Linked DNA regions of Homo sapiens: all the other regions are linked to region 3. The links are contacts of gene promoters, found by promoter capture Hi-C in blood cells and fetal thymus (Javierre and others, 2016). All regions are on one chromosome and are shown on one strand. The core of a region is centred on a gene start or on the middle of the fragment in contact, and the rest is flanking DNA. Distances in the headings are between cores, read along the strand shown.

Region 1 (2,700 bases), core at 72-2,571, 280 kb before region 3:
ACTAGGTACAGAACACATTTCTACAAATTAACTAGAACTAATCTTTGGCTCAAAATCTTGTTAAAAACACCCACTACTAAATACTTTTCCTGCCCTAAATCATTGAACTCCAGCATATACAATCCCCTAATTGTCGTAACAGCAGCTCCAACATGCTTCTTTGTCCACGTTTGTCCTTAAGGCCATGTAAAGTCTGTCACTGCTCTAATCAAAGGAATGTGTGTAGGTTCAGACAGGTGCTGACCTTTCCCCTTTCTAGGACACTTAATTAAAAGACCGGGACATTTGCAAACTGTCTCTGTGAATAATTCAACTCCCTTTAAAACCTTGGTGAACAGGACAGGGCTAACCTGAAGCGTTTGGGAACTCACTCTCTCCCCGCTCATTTAGATTTAGAGGGATTTCATCCACCCAGAAAGTATCCAGACTCTGCATCCCTTTGAAAAATGGACTGGAGAGAGAATGAGAAAAGAGCTTACAGGAAAATAGAAATCAGGAGTGGCAAACTCCTGCCCAGCATCTCCGGGGCGGGGAGCGAGTGGCCCATGGCAAACGAATTAGTGCCTTCCTTCCCAGGGCATTTGCACTTTAACAGAAGGCAAATATTGTGCTAAAGAAGTGAAGCTCTAAGTGGAATTTCCTGCATGAGCCCTGAAGAAGCAGCAAGGTCTTCTTGTGAGCTGCTATCAAGTACGGCACATCTGGGCGGGGGCTCAAGGGAAAGCTGGCAGTGCTGCCTGGCCGGCCAAGGCTTAAGGGGGTTTTGATCCCCTTCCTTTCCAGTAGTCTTAGGCACTTAGCCTTGCCTTAAAAACCAAAGGGATGTAGAGGAGTGCTTTGTGAGGTTTTCCCCCGCCTCCCCAGGGCATAGCATAACTCGTGAAAACACACAGCCAGTAACACGCATCCCAAAACCCCAGTGCAGTTTCCACCTCCCTCTCCAGGCGCTGCTTCCTGAGCCCGGCACAGGCCTGGTGAGCGGTCTGGCCTCAGCCTCATCCCAGCTGGTAGCGCTTTGTGCCGTGCGAATGGCTAAGAGGCACAAGAAACACTTCCACAGACAGATCCCCGAACCAGGAAACATTCCTTCCCCTCCCTGACCCCAGGGCAGCACCGGGGTGTGGAGAACAGTTAATCACCCTGAAAGCAAAACCTCCAGTCAAACATTAACAAATAGCTACCTCAAAGCTTTGCTGAAAATAAACTTGTGTGTTTTTTTTCTCTCTCTCTCTTTCTTTTCTTTGTGGCAGCAAAGGAATCTAATAAACATATACTATATTCCAAACAGAAAAACAAAAAAATCCAAAACTATTTCCCTATCTTGAAAGTAAACCTGCAACGTCATCTCAGGAAATATTCCCTTATTGCTCTTTTAGGAAAAAACACACAAACAAACAAAGAGAGAAAAATTTGAAGTGTGTTACATATTTATATCTGGAAATCACCAAAGCTTGGGATTTGTAATTTCGCGTTCCTGATACAGTTATTCATTTCCCGCTACTCCGGAGATGAACAAAAGCCACACTTGGGAGCCACTTTCGTGGCACTGCCTTGACGTATGAACCACTACCAGCCACCTACTTTACACAAACATCTCACACGAGACTGGTGTGCAAATGAATTCTGAGTCTTTAAGAAAACTTTTCAAGACATCCACTCCTCTGGGCTGGCTATTCCGCCCCCACTCACGCATCCCCCTTGCTCTCTGCCCTTCCTTGCCCTGCTCTGTACCCCCAGAGGCTGGCCCCCAGGGAACACACCACCCTATCTCCCTAATTTTTGCTGTCTTGAGGCACGCGCCAAGCTCAGAAGGCAGGAGGAAGCCGGGGTATTGGTGTCCTGCCCACTCCCTGCTCTTTCTCTCTAGGGCTCCAGGAACACGCTTTCCTTCCCTTGCCCCTTTAAGTCTGGGGATGATAACAGCTTCCTGCTATTGCTTGTCCTGGGGTCCTGCAATATCCCACGGACTGCCTTAGACTGACCTTCACTTCTGCAAAGAGTTCCTTCATTAACGTTTCTTCACTTGTGCTGAATGAATTGGATTCTGCTTCCTGAGTGGCCCCTGCTAAGCCCTCTACACTCCGTTTTCTTCCTCCAGACAGGGAGGGCAAATCTGTCCCCAGATCTGTTTAGGGTGCTTGGGTAGAATTCATGGTTGGGAACAAAGACAAATGTAGAGGCAGGAGAGTGCTGGCATCTGCCCAGCCGAATCTCCAGCGAGGAGGGTGCCTTTAGCTTCAGAATGAAAAGACAGCCTGGTTCTAAGTTTTTGTCACCTCAGGGATCCCCAGAGTTGACACCCACCTTCCCATTCCTGAACATCAGGACATGAGACAGAAGACTTCTTAGAAAATAGAGTTTGGGGATATTTTCCCCCTTCTTTCAGTTTCCTCCAGTGACTGGTGTTTCTGAGCAGGATTCTCTCCTTAAAGCCCCATCTAACCCCTAGATAAACGTGGCACAGTAATGAAGGGCTTCATTTTCTCTTTGTCATCCTCTCACTGCCTCTGGGATTTCAGCTTCACTCTGGCCACATGCCCTGGAGGCCCATCAGGGGTCCCACTTCCAGATGCTAAACCATCACTGCAGTGCTGTCTGAGGACGGCATGGTCTGAATGTGCACACATCACTTCTGTGTGATGGTAACATCACCAGTGCACACCCCAGACTTGTTAACTTCCTGCCCACTGATATGGACAG
Region 2 (2,700 bases), core at 89-2,588, 260 kb before region 3:
CCAAGGCCAGACAAACATGTCAAAGAAAACTACAGACCATTTTCTTTATAAATATGGACATAAATATTCTTAATAAAACACTAGCAAATCAAATCCAAAAGGACATTAAAAGGATTATACACCATGACTAAGTAGGATTTATGCCAGAAATGCAGGAGTGGTTCAACCCAAGAAAATCACATGATTTAATACATCACATTAGTAGAGCAAAGGGAAAAATCCATGATCATTTCAATAGATACAGAAAAAAGCACTTGACAAAATTTAACACACACTTTTCATGATAAAAACAATCAGGAAACTAGGAATATAGGGAACTTCCTTTCTTTCTCACTGGGATCAGGAACAAGACAAGAACGTCCCCTTTCACCACTGCTATTCAATGTTGTTCTGGAAGTACTAGCTAGATCAATTAGGTAAGAAAAAGAAATAAAAGGCATCCAAATTAGAAAGAAAGAAGTAAAATTATTTCTACTTGCAGATGATATGTTTCTATATATAGAAAACCCCATAGATTCCCCACAAAGCCACTAGTACCAATAAATTCAGCAAAGTTGCAAGGTACAAAGTCAAAATACAAAATTCAGCTGTGTTTTTATGTACCAGCAATGAACAATCTGAAAATGAAGTTAAGAAAACAATCCCATTTATAATAGCACCCAAAAGAACAAAATAACAGAGGATGTGAAAGGCAGGTATACTGAAAACTATATAACATTGCTGAAGGAATTAAAGATCCACTAAATAAATGGAAAGACATTCTATGTTCATTGATTGGAAAACAATATTGTTAAAATGGTAATACTCTTCAAAGCAATCTTTAGATTAAATATAATCCCTACAAAAATTCCAATTTTTTTTTCAGAAATAGAAAAGCCAATCCTCAAATGTATACAAAACTTCAAGGGGCCCTGAATAGCCCAAACAATTTTGAAATAGAAGAACAAAGTTGAAGGACTCATATTTCCTAATTTCAAAACTGAATACAAATCTACAATAATTAAAACAGTGTCAACTTGCATAAATATAGTCATATATAGACCAGTGGAATAGAATAGAGAGTCCAGAAATAAACCCAAACATTTATGGTCAGATGATTTTTGACAAGGGTGCCAAGACCATTCAAAGGGAAAGAATAGTCTCTTAAACAAATAGTGCTGGATAAACTGGATATTTACATGAAAAAGAATGAAGTTGGAACCCTACTTCACACCAGATACAAAAAGTCCCTCAAAAATGGATCAAAAGTCCAAATGTAAGACCTAAAACTGTAAACATATTAGAAGAAAACAAAAGGATAAATGCTCATGATTTTGTATTTGGCAATGGATTCTTAGATTTGACACCAAAAACACAAACAAAAGAAAAAAAAAGAAGAATTCACTTCCTAAAACTTAAAAACTTTTGGACCTCCAAGGACATTATGAAGAATACGAAAAGATAACCCATAGCATGGGAGAAAATACTGACAAATCAGATATCTGATAATGACTTAATCCTCAGAAGTTATACAACAAAAACACAACCCAATTGGAAAATGGACAAAGAACTTGAATAAACATTTCTCCAAAGAAGATATACAAATGGACAACAAGCACATGAAAAGATGTTTAACATCATTGGTCATTAAGAAAATGTGTATCAAAACCACAGCAGAATAGCCTTTCACACCCATGAGAATGACTTAAAAAAAAAAAGAAAAGGAAAATGTCAAGTGTTCATGAGGATGTGGAGCAATGAGAACCTACCACATGATCCAGCAATCTCACTACTGGATATTTATCCAAAGATAGTAAATCAATATGTATCATAGGGACACCTGCACCCTCATGTTTATTGCAGCAAGATATGGAATCAAACAAACTAAGTATCCATCAACGGATGGATGGATAAAGAAAATGTGGTATATATACACAATGGAATACTATTCAGCCAAAAAAAGGAACAAAATCCTATCATTTGCAGCAACTTAATATCATTTGCAGCACTTAATATCATTTGGAGGTCATGATATTAAGTGAGATAAGCCCGGCACAGAAAGACAAATAGTTCTCACCCATCTGTAGGAGCTAAAAACAAAAAAAAGTTGATCTTATGGAGGCAGAAAATAGAATCATAGTTACCAGAGGCAGGGAAGAGTGTGTGTGGAGGTGGGGGAGATGAAGAGAGGTTTGACTATTGGACACAAACATACAGTTAGGTAGAAGGAAAAAGTTCTAACACTTGACAACACAGTAGGGAGACCATAGTTAACAATAATTTACTGTATATTTCAAAATAGCTAAAAGAGACAACTTGAAATGTTCCCAACACAAAGGGATAATAAATGTTTGAGGTGATAGATAGTCTAAACATCCTGATTTGATCATTACATGTGTGCAAGTATCAAAATATCACATGTACCCCAAAATATGTACAATTATTATGGGTCAATAAAAATAAATAGATATGTTCTAAAAATGGCATAGCCACTGTGGAAAAACAGTTTGGTGGTTCCTCAAAAAGTTAAGCATAGAATTACCATGTGACAAGCAAATCCACTGCTAGGTATATACCCAAGAGAAATGAAAACATATGTCCACAAAGAAACTTCTACACAAATGCATATAGCAACATAGTTCATGATAGCGAAAAAGCGGAAGCAACCCAAATGCCCGTCAGTGGAAGAATGGACAGACAAACGTGGTGTATATATACACA
Region 3 (2,700 bases), core at 189-2,688:
TAGGCTAAGGTCATATTTAAATATATATTAATTTATGAATAAATTTAAGTGCTTGCTTGACACAGGGGACTACTTCATAGAGTAGATTCTGGAGTTCCTTTTGTCTTTCTGAAACCTTATTTTCCTATCTAGCTTGTTCTGAGACGTACTGTGGGCAGACTTGGCCTTACACATATATCGACTCACTCAACAAATACAGCTAAGGAAAGTAAAATGTCTCTGGGCTACAAGCTGGGAGGAAGTTACTAAGATGAGTAAAGAAGGACCCCCTCCAAGAGCTTAAATTAAGTCTTGGAGACAACAGCCATGCGCACCAAGAAGCTCAACCTAAGATGAAAAGGGCATCTAAGAGGCGCGAGATGGCTCGTGAAGGTAACAGACGTCTTAAGAATTTTTCCGGGCCCAGCACAGTGGCTCACGCCTGTGATCCCAGCACTCTGGAAGGCCGAGGAAGGCGGACTGCTTGAGCCCAGGAGTTCGAGACCTGCTCGGCCAACATAGTGAGACAGCGTTTCTTAAAAGAAAAAGAAAAATTGGCGTGGCGTGGTGGCGGGTGCCTGTAGTCCCAGACCGCACCACTGCACTCCAGCCTGGGCGGCAGAACCAGACCCTGTCTCAAAAATAAATAAATAATTAAAAAATAAAGAAAAGAAAAAAAAGAATTCTTCCTCGAGAGAGGAAGCCGGCTACTGGATATTCTAAAGAGCAGTCTGTTTGCCCCTGCCTTCTCCATCCAGAGTCACCGACGCTTTCTGCACACGAGGTGTTCCGCGCCAATGTGGGCACAAGCCAAGGCAAGAGGACTCCATCAAGCTCCTCCTGGGTACCATGATTTGGAAGACCCAAGGATGAGTTCAGCGGGCCACCATCCTCAAGGAAGCACCATCAAGAACTGAGTCAGGCCCGGGGTATTCTCGACGTCAAAGCGGTCGAGAGGTGGGGGTGCCACCAGGAAGAGTCACTGGAACGGACCTTCCGCGCTCGTCTCGCGGTCTGTATGCGCACTCACACCCCTGGAAGGCTCTACCACTGTAGGACAGAGCACGGAGGATTGCCCAGGCGCCGGAGAAGAGGTTAGCGCCCCGCAACTCCGCCCCTGCCCCGCCCACGCAACGCGGCGGCTGCGCGGCGAGGCCGCCCCGTCTCCACGTGATTGCCGACACCGCCTCCGCGAAGCAGAAGCCGCCATCATAAGTCCTGGCAGCTGGACCTGGGCCTGCCTCCCTCCTTCTCCTGCGCCAGGTAGCGGTAACGGGCTGGGGTTGTTCTGTCCTGGTTCTGTCTGGCCGTGAAGCCGCAGGCCTCCGAGAGCGGGACGAGGAGGTGGGGCCCAGGGGGCTCCGGGGCGGACAGACTGACCGCCGGACAGCCCAGGTGTCGGCACAGCGTGGGCGGTGCCCAGAGCCGCGCCCCGCCCCTCGCAGGCCAGCGCTCAGGGCTCGCGGGCCGTGCCCGTTTCCAGTATGGCCGCCCGCCGCGCCTGACCCGCGGCCTCTCCGCTCCGACTGCTTGTAGGCGATGCCCAGGCAAAGACCGTGACTGACACTCTCGCTCACACGCACGCACGGACCCAGGCCCACGCTCGGAGATCGAGCCCCGGGCTCGCAACCGTTGTCGCTCCCGGCGCCGCGGCCAGAGCCCGGACCACGGCTTCCGCGCCGCCGCCGCCTCGCCGAGAAGGGCCGCGCCGGACCTCGAGCGCGGCGGCCCCCGGCCGGCAGGGATGGGGAAGCGGGCGGGAGGAGGAGCAACCGGAGCCACCACCGCCGCCGTCTCCACGTCCGCCGGGGCCGGGCTGGAACCTGCGGCCGCCCGTAGCGGGGGCCCGCGGAGCGCGGCCGCCGGCCTCCTAGGCGCGCTGCACCTGGTGATGACCCTCGTAGTGGCTGCGGCGCGGGCCGAGAAGGAAGGTGGGTGTCCCCCGGCGGCGTCCCTGCGGCGGGGCTGTCACCCCGCTCTCGCGGAGGCCGGGAGGGCTGGGCCGGGAGGAAGGGCCGCGGCCGGGGCTCCGGCGCAAAGTTGGGCGGTCGGGTACCGTCCCGAGCCGGGACCTCGCGGCGCCCGCCGCACGGAGTGGCCTTCGCTCTCCGTGATTCCTTCCCGTGCCTTCCCCCGTCTCCTGTCACTGCCATTTCAAAACTTCCTGACTTCTCGTACGTTCTTGCCACTTGGCCCGCTAGGTAGGAGGGGCATATTTTTTGGCTTTATTGCGGCGAATAGGTACATTTTAGGACACTTCTGTTTTCTTGGTTGCGGTTGGTTGCATGCAGACAGAGCTTACTTTAAAATGTGGTAAAAATAGCGAGACACAGCTTAAAAAATTTCACTTTGAATTTGTTCAGACATTTCTTCGAGGGGAAATCTTGGTCCTGTAGCTTCCTCCTTTAGTGTCTCTGCGTTATTGATAACTTTATTATTAGACCTAAATACAATTCCATTTAACTCTTTAGTAAGCTGTTGAAAGCCTGTTTACATTTCTTATTTTAAAATACGTGATTCGGTGCCTTTATCTTTGATGTGAAAGCCTTTAAAAATAAACGTGAAGTTGCCAGCTTGCAAGCATTTATCTATAATTTACAGTTAAGGGCTGGCCCCTATTTTAAAAATCTCATTAGTATTGTACTGCTGCAAAACGGGTACTTGGACAGGGTCAAAAATTATTTTGTAATCTTGAAGACCAAATCAGTGTAATTTCATCTA

What was found. The method cuts DNA at HindIII sites, captures the fragments that hold promoters and counts their contacts. A CHiCAGO score of 5 or more calls a contact.
Region 1: a fragment that was not itself captured here is called in contact with the fragment with the promoter of TMEM131 in region 3 in 2 of 17 cell types (M1 macrophages and M2 macrophages); the score reaches 5.5 in M1 macrophages.
Region 2: a fragment that was not itself captured here is called in contact with the fragment with the promoter of TMEM131 in region 3 in 1 of 17 cell types (M2 macrophages); the score reaches 5.1 in M2 macrophages.

The regions. Positions count from the first base shown.
Region 1 is chr2:98,278,883-98,281,582 of GRCh38, reverse strand. The region is part of intron 22 of VWA3B (von Willebrand factor A domain containing 3B); the gene reads right to left. Among named protein-coding and RNA genes, the nearest start is that of CNGA3, 66 kb to the left of the region's middle. RefSeq lists an enhancer at 882-1,382. The HindIII fragment of the contact is 262 bases long and covers 1,191-1,452 here.
Region 2 is chr2:98,256,551-98,259,250 of GRCh38, reverse strand. All of the region lies in intron 21 of VWA3B (von Willebrand factor A domain containing 3B), which reads right to left. Among named protein-coding and RNA genes, the nearest start is that of CNGA3, 89 kb to the left of the region's middle. The HindIII fragment of the contact is 8,873 bases long and covers 1-2,700 here.
Region 3 is chr2:97,994,686-97,997,385 of GRCh38, reverse strand. It overlaps TMEM131 (transmembrane protein 131), which reads left to right and starts at 1,438. Exons shown (of 41, transcript NM_015348.2): 1 at 1,438-1,910. The coding sequence starts at 1,724. RefSeq lists enhancers at 729-1,008, 1,179-1,692 and silencers at 1,229-1,478, 1,589-2,148. The HindIII fragment of the contact is 7,821 bases long and covers 1-2,700 here.